Linked DNA regions of Homo sapiens: regions 2 and 3 are each linked to region 1. The links are contacts of gene promoters, found by promoter capture Hi-C in blood cells and fetal thymus (Javierre and others, 2016). All regions are on one chromosome and are shown on one strand. The core of a region is centred on a gene start or on the middle of the fragment in contact, and the rest is flanking DNA. Distances in the headings are between cores, read along the strand shown.

Evidence for each region. Contacts are between HindIII fragments. The CHiCAGO score rates a contact against its expected background, and 5 or more counts as called.
Region 2: a fragment that was not itself captured here is called in contact with the fragment with the promoter of IL2 in region 1 in 1 of 17 cell types (activated CD4 T cells); the score reaches 6.9 in activated CD4 T cells.
Region 3: a fragment that was not itself captured here is called in contact with the fragment with the promoter of IL2 in region 1 in 1 of 17 cell types (activated CD4 T cells); the score reaches 6.9 in activated CD4 T cells.

What each region holds. Positions count from the first base shown.
Region 1 is chr4:122,454,992-122,458,912 of GRCh38, forward strand. It overlaps IL2 (interleukin 2), which reads right to left and starts at 1,734. Exons shown (of 4, transcript NM_000586.4): 1 at 1,303-1,734; 2 at 1,153-1,212. The coding sequence starts at 1,449. RefSeq lists an enhancer at 3,720-3,779. The HindIII fragment of the contact is 2,130 bases long and covers 380-2,509 here.
Region 2 is chr4:122,553,814-122,557,734 of GRCh38, forward strand. No RefSeq gene overlaps it. Among named protein-coding and RNA genes, the nearest start is that of IL21-AS1, 63 kb to the right of the region's middle. The HindIII fragment of the contact is 6,323 bases long and covers 1-3,921 here.
Region 3 is chr4:122,536,994-122,540,914 of GRCh38, forward strand. No RefSeq gene overlaps it. Among named protein-coding and RNA genes, the nearest start is that of IL21-AS1, 80 kb to the right of the region's middle. The HindIII fragment of the contact is 7,362 bases long and covers 1-3,921 here.

The DNA.
Region 1 (3,921 bases), core at 484-2,983:
TTGGCATGAACAATGTGGAGAAATTTTCTTCAGAAAACAGCATCTAGTATCTTTATGTTGCTGGAGTTGCATTATGTGGCTCTGATTAAACTAGAGTAACATCTGTAAGCTGTCTCCTTTACATCTTTCAGAAGGGTAGTTAGAAGCAGATTTCTCTTGAATTAATAGAATTTGAGTCAATGGGATTGCATCTGTGTCCCCTTAAATCCTATTATTTTCTGGGCTTGGATTCACCCTGGCACAAGCTCTTTCTGGCACCAGATTTTGTTCATTCTCTCTTAACTGGCACAGCTACTAGGTAGCTTTACACACCTAATGTAGCCTAGGAGCTTGGATGATTATGCTTATGCTCTATCTGAATCCAAAAACAACCTAATGAAGCTTTTAATCTTGGAAAATAAGTCATATAGCATTATAAATCTCAAGTTCTATTGGTAAAAAGATAAAGTCCAAAATTTTACTTTGTATTTCTCAGTGAAAATTTTATCTTTAATACTACTAATAATAGCTAATGCTTGTATGGTATTTACCTTATGCCAGACACGGTTCTGAGTGCTTTACATTTACTTACTAATTCTCACAAAGCCATATTAAGTATATACAGTTATTCATTTAAGTAGACATGAAACTGAATCACAAACAGAGTAGGTAATTTGCCAAAGATCATGAAAGCTAGGACATGGCAGAGCTGAGATTTCACTTCAGATATCTGGCCCCAGACTCTGTGCTATTAGTGTTATGCTGCCTCTCACTTAGAAACCTTTCCTAAAACAAGAAAAGATTTTTAAAAGTGGGCTCCTTGGAAATAGATTTTGGTATTTTACATACTAAAATGACATAATCAAATATTTTAGAGTTTTACATTTTTAAATGAAACCATAAATGAACATTTTTGTTTAGAATTGTCTTATCGATAAAGTGAGAATATTATTTTTATGTTTTCTTCCCACCCCCACCAACACACAAATATATATTAAAAATATAGGTAAAACTGTTTTAATAGAGGCTTCATTATCAAACTTGGGTTTTCAAAAAAACAAATTAAAGTTACTCTTTACCTCAGATGAGCTGCTATTAGTCCCATCTGTGCAAATTTTCATATTACTTTGAATTTTATTAAAACAGAAATTGAACATAAAATATTGTACTTACCTTCTTGGGCATGTAAAACTTAAATGTGAGCATCCTGGTGAGTTTGGGATTCTTGTAATTCTAAGAAAGTATAATGCATTGTTATTAAGAAATGATCTCCAGCTAGATTACTAAATGTAATAATTTTAGTAAGAAAGGAAATATACTTACATTAATTCCATTCAAAATCATCTGTAAATCCAGCAGTAAATGCTCCAGTTGTAGCTGTGTTTTCTTTGTAGAACTTGAAGTAGGTGCACTGTTTGTGACAAGTGCAAGACTTAGTGCAATGCAAGACAGGAGTTGCATCCTGTACATTGTGGCAGGAGTTGAGGTTACTGTGAGTAGTGATTAAAGAGAGTGATAGGGAACTCTTGAACAAGAGATGCAATTTATACTGTTAATTCTGGAAAAATATTATGGGGGTGTCAAAATGTTTTACATATTACACATATTTTCAAAGACTTTACCTGTCTGAAAAAACATTACCTTCATTTTTCCTCTTCTGATGACTCTTTGGAATTTCTTTAAACCCCCAAAGACTGACTGAATGGATGTAGGTGAAATCCCTCTTTGTTACATTAGCCCACACTTAGGTGATAGCTCTAATTCATGCAATTAACGCCTTCTGTATGAAACAGTTTTTCCTCCTTTCTTTAAGGGGGTGGGGATACAAAAGTAACTCAGAAAATTTTCTTTGTCATAAAACTACACTGAACATGTGAATAGCATATTGTGGTGGACAAGAGCAAGAGTAAACAGATGAAAAGAATAAATGTTTAGATTTGTTGATAAAACAGGAAGTGTATTGGTTTCCTGTTTCAGAATGGTTTTACCTTTTTATCCACACAATGAGCTAATTGCATACAATAAGATAGATTGCTTCTTACATGTCAGCTAGAGAAATACTAAGATTAGAATACTTAAAATGCTTATTGAGCTTGAGGTACTGTTTAACGCTATTTTAATTTAAAATGATTATATATCTGTTTAAGTCTCTTAATGTCTATTGTACATTTTTTAAAGGGTGCGATTGTTAAATACTCAGAAAAAGGTTTGCATTCAAGGATACTGATGCTAGTTTTATAATAGACTTTGTATGTGTTATGTGTAAACCAGTCCATGTTTCTCGTTTTTATGTCTTTACCTCTTTAATGGATTTTTATTTATCCTCTAAATCACCTGGGACACTATGAATGTAACAATAATCGTTATGAAATATGATCTTGTTTTTAGTCAGAAGACTAGGATATTTAGGATAGGTGTTCATTCATCCTCAGTACAGTGCACAAACTGGCTGAACAATTGTACGGATATATACTTCTAATTTAACCTGGGGACACTTGAGGAGATCCTGTCTCAGAGAGAGTCCTTGTAAAGCTTCCATTCTATGGCCTTATTTATTTCTTACCTGGACTTTTTTTTTTTTTTTAAAGATGGTATTGTCTGTGTTTTTGTTTGTTTTTTTAAGACAATATTGTCTGGTCTTTAAACAGACATCTAGCACCTATAATGCCTTCAGGTATATAGAAAGAGAGAAAAGAGAACAGTGTACAGGCAGGCACTTAGTCTAATATAAGTCTTACAGACTTGTGAAGTGATGGCTCCTATTTTGCAGATTAGAAAACTGAGGCTCAGAGAAGTTAAGTAATTTGCTCTAGGTCACTCAGCCCTTATTGCCAGTAAGGGGCAGAAGAAGGATTTGAAAAGAGAATGTTCTGACTCCAAAAATCCACTCTCTTACCATTTGTATTTTTTCAAAGAACCTGATTTGTAATAGGGAAGATATGTACATACACAAGTGTAGTCCTGGGTGATAGGTGATTGCTGCCCCAAGGGAGGTGGATATAAGGAATCTTGAATAAGGAACAATTAATTTAAACTGGATTTTGAGGAGGGTGCATAGGCAGGAATGATTAAAGCAGTCTAAGGAACAGTCAAATGTAATATTTTACAAAGAACAGAGAAAAATGGTTCAATAAGAGTTTTCTATGCGTTAGGTAATGTTCGGAGAATATAAAACAAATTTAAAAATAAAGATTATAGTCCCTCAAGTAGAAAAAAAAATGAAGAAAAGGTCAGATTAGGGCCAAATCTCATGAACTTTTTATACGAAAAAATGCAAAATGTCTCTATACATTTCAGATCAAAATCACATTAACGCTGTTATAAGGGGCAGGCTATTTGGTAGTCTGTGTGTTATTTATTTAATATAATAAAGTACAGCTTTATTATACTTGTTTTGCTTCTCTAAAGAGTTTCAGTGTCTAATCCCAGCATCATCACTCAGGCCTTTACCCTTCCAGAATGGAAGAATTCAAGCCCACACATTTTCCTATGTGGGGGCTTTTCCAATGAGGTATTTGATGTTCTCCAGTCTTGATATTTCTATTTCTCTGGCTATTTCCATTAGAGAATGGGGCAATATATGGCTATACTTCTGGGACCCTGTAGAAAACTGAGTTCTTAGACCCCTAGTTTATCTCTGTTAATGCACAGTAGGCACCATTATAGAAGTTGGCTTTTTCATTTCTTTCTTGAAATACGTGTGGAAAAGCTACATTCGCTGTGACATACTTTCGCTTTCTCACGTCTGACACATCAGCTGGCTTTTCTGGTTGTGGCAGTAAAGTCACTAGTAGACTGCTAACTACCACGTGTGTCATACCCCCTGCTTCTCCTTTTACTATGCAGAATTTTACTATTAAACAAGAAGCTATTTTTAGTTGCTTAGCATTGTTTGTGACTTAGCCTCTTAGACTCAAGAGTGGCCCAAGTCCTTTCAAAGGG
Region 2 (3,921 bases), core at 791-3,290, 99 kb after region 1:
TGATATCAGAAGAAAGAGCCTAGCAAAATTCTCCCATTCTGCTTTCTACAAATTTTTGCTTCTTCTGCATAGCACTGTAGTTGAAAAGAAACTTTGTTCCAGAGTCCTTCCTGTTCCTCTGAGGATGGAACAGTTCATAAATGTAATGCTAGCTCTGGGAAGCTGATGAAAACTTCATTCTGATCAGAACTAGAGATGGGGGGAAATGGAACTGGGTACTCTCATGCTCTCCAGTCCTTTCTGTCCCCATTATGTTATCTCTGCTCTGTCTGAGTAGAACATGGTAGGGCAGGTGAGAGCAGCTGAGAACAGCGTGGGGCAGGCTAGAACAGGCTAACAAGGCAAGGGGGGCTGAGTGCTACTGAGTAAGGACACCACTGAAGGTTAAAAGCCTGAAAGAAGGTAAATACTGGGAGAGTGAGACAACGATAGAGACCATATTCACAGGTGGAGATAGAATGATGAATGGTTCAAATTCAAGGCAGGTAAAAAAAAAAAAGATGTCGCTGATTGATAGGATTCTACTATGATAATTGGATTGGAGCTAGACTTGAGCATTTTCCTTGAGCTAGTCACCTTTCCATAAAGGAAATGTTTAGGTGAAGCAGTAGCCAGAGGCCTGCACAGACTGGACTGGCCAAGGCTTAATAGGACCCAGCCCTATTGGGATTTGCATTGCCTCTATATCAGTTTGGACTTTCTTCCTTGTTTGTCACTTCATGTTTATAAGATGGACACTACAGCTCTGAACATCACATTCATGTTCATCTAAGACTGTAGAAGAGGAGCAGGGAGAAAGAGGTTAGTGTCAACAGATTTTCTCTAATGTTTTTGTTTTTGAGACAGAGTCTCATTCTGTCGCCCAGGCGGGAGCACAGATGTGCAATCTCGGCTCACTGCAACCTGTGCCTCCCAGGTTCAAGCGATTCTCGTGCCTCAGCCACCCAAGTAGTTGGGATTACAGGCATGCACCACCACGCCCAGCTAATTTTTGTATTTTTAGTAGAGACGAGGTTTCATCATGTTGGCCAGGCTGGTCTCAAACACCTGACCTCAAGTCTCCCAAAGTGCCTCAGCCTCCCAAGGTGCTGGGATTACAGGCATGAGCCACTGCACCTGGCCATTCTCTAGTGCTTTGTTGCCAGAATGATATCACGTGGTAATTCTAGGTATTCTAGCAAAGAAGACTGGGAAATAAACTATTTAGCTTTTGCATCCTCTCAAATAGAGATAGTCAGTAGGGAGTTGAACTGGGGTGGGGGGAGCCAGCATACAGGTGTCTATCTCTGGCTCTGACACACTCCTCACCACTTGCTCCCTTCCCAGCCTACCCTATTTCTTTTAAAATTAAAAAAAAGCAAGGGAACACCCAAGGATGTTTCTAGTGGAAATAGTCATTAAACTCATTCAAGTCTTCATCTTGCACCCACCCCCATCTGTTCAGATACCCAGAAAGCCTGTTTCTCTAGTTTTATCATATTTCATTCTTAGAACAGATGTGTTTTTCTCTCAGTTTACCTTTGATTTCAACTGCAGCCATGGTGAACAGTGCTATGCATGCCATTAATCATACATCAGGCATCCATCATAAGCCTTTCCTCTTTCCTGTCCTGTGGTTTTTATCAAAATCAGCAGAATTCATTGGCCCGTATATATGAGCAGCCCGGGAGTGCAGAAAGGTTTATTTTCCTGGAGATAACCTTCCTCCAGGGGTAGAAGGGAGTCAGTAGATAAATGCCTCTTCTGCACTTGAACAATCTGCTGGGGCATTCTGCATTACTTCCTTGGAGGGTCTCCTTGGGATTGGGTCCCAGTTGTTCACAGTAGAAACCAGCTCAGTAAACCAGTAAACCCTTCTTTCCTGTTTTTGGTTTTTGTTTTTTTTTTTTTTTCTTCTCTAACTCTCCCTTCTCCCTCACTCCTGCTTCCTGGGAGCACCACCCAAATATGGAGAGATCTGCTCCCATGTTCTTATCTCAGGCTCACTTTGGAGGGGACCCAAACTAAGGCAAATCACTCTTCATTGAAACTTCTTGACAATTTTTTTAAAATTTTATTTTATTATTATTATACTTTAAGTTTTAGGGTACATGTGCACAATGTGCAGGTTAGTTACATATGTATCCATGTGCCATGCTGGTGTGCTGCACCCATTAACTCGTCATTTAGCATTAGGTATATCTCCTAAAGCTATCCCTCCCCCCTCCCCCCACCCCACAACAGTCCCCAGAGTGTGATGTTCCCCTTCCTGTGTCCATGTGTTTTCATTGTTCAATTCCCACCTATGAGTGAGAATATGCGGTGTTTGGTTTTTTTTCTTGCGATAGTTTACTGAGAATGATGATTTCCAATTTCATCCATGTCCCTACAAAGGACATGAACTCATCATTTTTTATGGCTGCATAGTATTTGGCATTTTCATGGGATCCTTTCCTTTATGTACTTCCTTTTGAAGGGAAAGTGGGCTTGATTTCAGTACAGAAATTAAAAATCTTGATTTCTCTATAGAAATTATAGTGAGAACTATAATCCACTAGAAAAATGTAAATGTATCATGTGCTTTTCTATTAAAAGAAACAAATATATCAAAGGATGTTCTTCATCCTTATTTCAGCAGTCCCCAACCTTTTTTGGCATCAGGAACCAGTTTTGTGGAAGACCGTTATTCCACAGACAGGGGGTTGGGGGATGGTTTGGGGATGATTCAAGCATATTACATTTATTGTGCACTTTATTTCTATTATTATTACATTGTAATATATATTGAAATAATTATACAATTCATCAAAATATAGAATCAGTGGGAGCCCTGAGCTTATTTTCCTGCAACTAGATAGTCCCAACTGGGGGTGGTGTGAGACTGTGACAGATCATCAGTCATTAGATTCTCATAAGGAGCATGCAACCTAGATCCCTTGCATGTGCAGTTCACAATGAGGTTCACACTCCTATAAGAATCTAATGCTGCCGCTGATCTGACGGGAGGTGGAGCTCAGGTCATAATGCTCCTTGGACTGCTGCTCACCTCCTGCTGTGCAGCAGAGTTCCTAACAGGCCACGGACTAATACCAGTCCCTGGCCTGAGGGTTGGGGACCTCTGCCTTATTGGACCCAAGCATTGAGCAATGCTTGTAAATTATATGTGTTCAGGAGAATCAGCAACAATACAGAAACATTTGCAAAGCCACTAGTGTACCAAGTACCAGGCTCAGTGGTATGAACTAAGGATTCATAATTGAATAGACATAGCTTCTGCTTTCAAATTGCTCATGTAGTGGAGGTGGGGCACGGGGAAGGTCAAGTCAACAAGGATCTGTGTGGTATGTGCTGTAAGAATCCACCTATCTTAGTGACTGATGAAATGTGAGATGGGAACAAAAAAGATACAAGAATCTAGGATGACTCCAAGTTTTCCAGCCTGGGCAAGTGGGTGGATAGGATGTCATTAACCAAAACAGACAATGAAAGGACAATAGCAGATTTGAAAAGAAAATATGTTGAGTTCAGAATGCCTGGAAGTTATTAAGGTGGATATATCTAGTAGACAGATATATAGGTCTGGAGATAAGGAAAGAAATCAGGACTGGAATGTAGATTTGGGAGTCATTTATACATAAAATTAAAGCTAAAAAAATAAGTTAGATCAGCAGGAAAAAAAAAGGAGAAGAAAAGCAAATGAAGGAAAAATTCAAGGAAACAGCAGGACTAATAAATGGATTAAGAAACAGGAACCAGCAATGAGTCTGAGGAGGACTGAACAGAGAGGTAGAAGAATCAGATAGAAGTGTTCCTCAATTCCTTTTTTAAAAAAATACAGGGGTCTTACTATGTGGCCCAGGCTGAACTTGAACTCCTGGGCTCAAGCATTCCTCCCATCTCAGCCTCCCGGGTAGCTGGAACTACAGTCCTGTGCCCCCACAT
Region 3 (3,921 bases), core at 469-2,968, 82 kb after region 1:
AATCTTACATAATTGAAGGGCTAGCAGGGAGTTTAAGAGATCAATTTATCTACTCTGTGTTTTCCAGGAGTATAATGTTTAAACCATACTCAACAAGTAAGAATCCATATTATGTTATTTTGTATTTATTTATTTTTAAAGACCTTAACTGGCTTTATTTACAGTTCTACAAGCAGGCAACACTTCATTCTATAAAACAAAATGAGTGTTCCCTATCCTATTTTAAAGAAATCTGTAAAACAGTGGGAATTTTAAATCATAAAGCCTCTTGTGGATTTAAATAAACAGCATATCTCCCATAGGGATTGTCAGTACTGAAATTATCTAACACATGAAGTAGTGAAAATCAGACTCATTTTAAAGATTTGTGTATGTACAGAACTACTCTTAATTCCTCCCTACCACTGTTTTGGGATAAATTCAGCATACCACAATGCGGCATAGGTAGAACTTGGCACACTTCTGTCATGCAGACTATGATGGCATACCTGTGGATCTCTCATGAGCAAAGTTTCTCAACAGAGTACATACTGGCATTTTGAGTGAGACAATTTATTGTGCAGTGTTCCTGGCTCCATCCCACTAAATGCTAGCAGTGCCCCCTAGTTACTGTGACAACCAAAAAAGGCTCATCACCCATCTCCAAATATTACTGGGCAGAGTGGTATCACCCCAGCTTGAGAATCACTGCACTAGTCTATGGACTTGTTATGAATGGTCAATACTATTTGTAGGCATACATTTATTTATTTACACATGGAAATATATAAACAGTTTATTCAATGTAGTATACAAATAAGGTAACAGCTTTTATTTTTCAGAGATTTACTCAGTCCAATGGGGATCTTTTCATCCCACTGGGTTTCTATTCAAGCATAGTGTGACCCAGTTTGAAGGAAAGTGCTTGTCCACTGTTCGGGGATGCTCATGCTGGTCCAGGGCCAGCTCTGCCACTCTGTCTCCTCTTGCTGAGCCACAGTTTACAATGGACAAAGAAAGTAAAGCATCTGGCCTGTGACCCATTAATTTCCTTTACCAAGGGCCAACCTCTGAGAGAAAGAAAAGAGGGCAAGTGCCCCAATCTGATTTTCTTATCAATTGGACCTCTAAGTAAATAGATGAATGATGTTTGTTAGCAGGAAGAGATTTCATCTGTTGAATACCACTGACTTAGTGTAAATAAATCTACGATATATGGCGACATAAGGCACAGCTCCCTGGAAAATGTCATTCTTTGAGATATAAAATGGAGATATTGTATGACTCAAATGCTCCTCCTTCTGCGTGAGAAAAAAAAAACCTTTAAATGTCACTAGAAGATCCTCATTTATTATTCTGGGCCAGAGAGTAAATGTTTGACATGAAAAGATAGGATCCAAGGAACCACCCTCAATGTCTCAGATCCCTCTTTGCTTCATTTGAGTCTCTTGATTGCCTGTATCTTGAAATTTTTGTAAAAGCTCAATGTTGGGTAAAGGTTTGGATTTAGGTGAGTCTGACTTGACTAGCTAATTTTTTGTGTTATCTCATTCCCCAAACCCTCTTTTGTCTCTGCTGTAAGAGCCCAAAGGTACTCTGGCACTAGTCCCAAGACTATGCTCATAGCAATCCTCACTCATGACCATCCTCGTGAGCCTTTCCTTGACCCCAGAGAACCATCCTAGACTTTACCTTTCTCAAAATAATTTCATTTCAAAGGCCTTAATTCCTTTCCCTATCTCCTGGTCTGGATTTGTCCCAAAGGCTTTGAGCTCTTTAAAAACTTGATCCATTACAAAAAAAAAAAAAAAAATGAGAGTAGACCGGATTCAATACTAGTCACAGTGGGGTTTGCAGAGATGTTTCAGTGAGCTGAAATACATGAAAAATTACTTAAGATAATTGCTAATTATAAAAAAGCCATGCAGGTATTTGGCAATACTCTCATTTTGAAATGAGATAAACTGAGAATATTTTAAATATATTATAGATAAGTTAACTTCCTTTTAAGCCAGGAAAGTAAAATTATAATAAATTCTGATTTTGATATAAATAAAATGTGGAAAATTCAAACAAACAAACATAATCTACCTCCTCTCCAGTGACAGGGGTCTTAGGAAATGATAGCACTGATGGAGTAAGTCATCATCATCATCAAAAAATAATAATGCCTTTTTATATTCTAACCCATGATAACTGGTGTCTATGCTTGAGAGATAATAGAGTATAGTGAGTGACAGCAAAGGCTTTAGAGCCAGACTCCTTAGGTTTAAATCCCAGCTTGCCCACTTGCTGCCCAAGATATTGGGCAGGTTATTTGGCCCTTTAAGTCTTAATTTTTTTCATCTACAAATTGGGAAGAATAATAATATGTACTTCATAGGATTTGTTTAAGAAATGAATTAATACAGGTAAATAGCATAAAATGGTATTTATGGTACCTGGGTGTATTTGGGAGATTATAAGTCATCAATAGTTATTGACTATAAGTATTATTTGCATAATTAAGATGGTCAGAAAAAAATAAGCATATTTCCTGAAACTAAGAGAAACTAGTTTCTCTTTTAAAAAAGCATAGTGTTAGTGTATCTACCTATCTATGTAATTATTGTGTAACTGGATGATACACATGGTATACTGGAAAACATATGAGCAATAGAGACTTCAGAAGATGTTGGTTTAAATTCTCTCTCTCCTAAATGTCTTCTTAAAATGGGTACATCTATACAAACCTACCTCGCAGGAGGACTGTTGTGCAGATTAAATATCTTGTTTGTAAAATGTTTTGTACAGTGCTTGTCCTTTGCGAGTCCTTCACAAATAGTTCCTATTGCTAGTACTAGGACTCAGCATAGCATTCAACACATGCTTGAGAAAGAGTAAATAACGAATGTGTAGTACTATGCAGTCAATTTGTGAAGTGACAAGCATGACTCTACAGGGAAGGCCACATTTCTTACACTGTTCCTACAAAAGCTGGATATTCACAAATCAAGAATGTGAAAGTAGATATTCCTTCATTTGAAGGGAGAGAGAACTGTATAATGGATAACAGACTGAGCTAATGCTCTGAATCACCTAGGAACCTTCTAAAAGTACAGATTCTGGAGCTCCAAGTCAGACCTAGAAAATCAGTATCTCCGGGGGTGGGGAGAAGAGAAAAGGAATCTTGTATTTTTAAAAAGCAACAAAAAACAGCCTCAGGTGATTCCCATGATAAGTCAGTGAGATGACCTCTCTATTCCCTTCAAGATTTAAATTCTATGATTCTAATCACACCTTCTAAGTGAGTCAGAGCCCAGAATTATCAGGCAAAATGAGGTAATTTGTGGTTTCCTGTCTTTCTGATTATGGTAGAGGGAAGTGTCACATAATGGGCATTGTCTAAGTTGCTGTAACAGAAAAGTGAAAAATTGTCTGATTTATAAACCCTTCAGTTTTAAATCCCTAATATTCTGACTAATAAAATTAGCAAAGCAGACTGCATTTCGACACTGTAGATATATTCTGCGCCATAAAATAAATAAATAAATAACCCTGACAAAAAGAAAAAAACACCCAGGGAATACCCAAACAAGCTGCAGACATGGGAGTGATGGTGAATTAAGCTGAAGGTAATAACAGACAGGGAGACACCTCATTTTACCTTGCAGTTGAACAACTGCAGTCTTGAGGCTGAATCAATAAAGAAAAAGAATAAGTCCTCAGGGGACTGGAGTGATATTCTATACAGAATTACAGGGCAGGATTGCTGTCTGAAACCCATATGGTCAAGAGAAATGTTGATAAATTAGAGTTCACAAACATAGTTGATTCGATCAAAGAAAGAAATCTCATACCAGTTTTGCAACATGTCACAGACTGATGCAGCAGATTGTGACCCCCATGATAAATCACTCTTCTCTGGAGTAAGAGCAAACTTTTATATTTCCAGCACCAGGT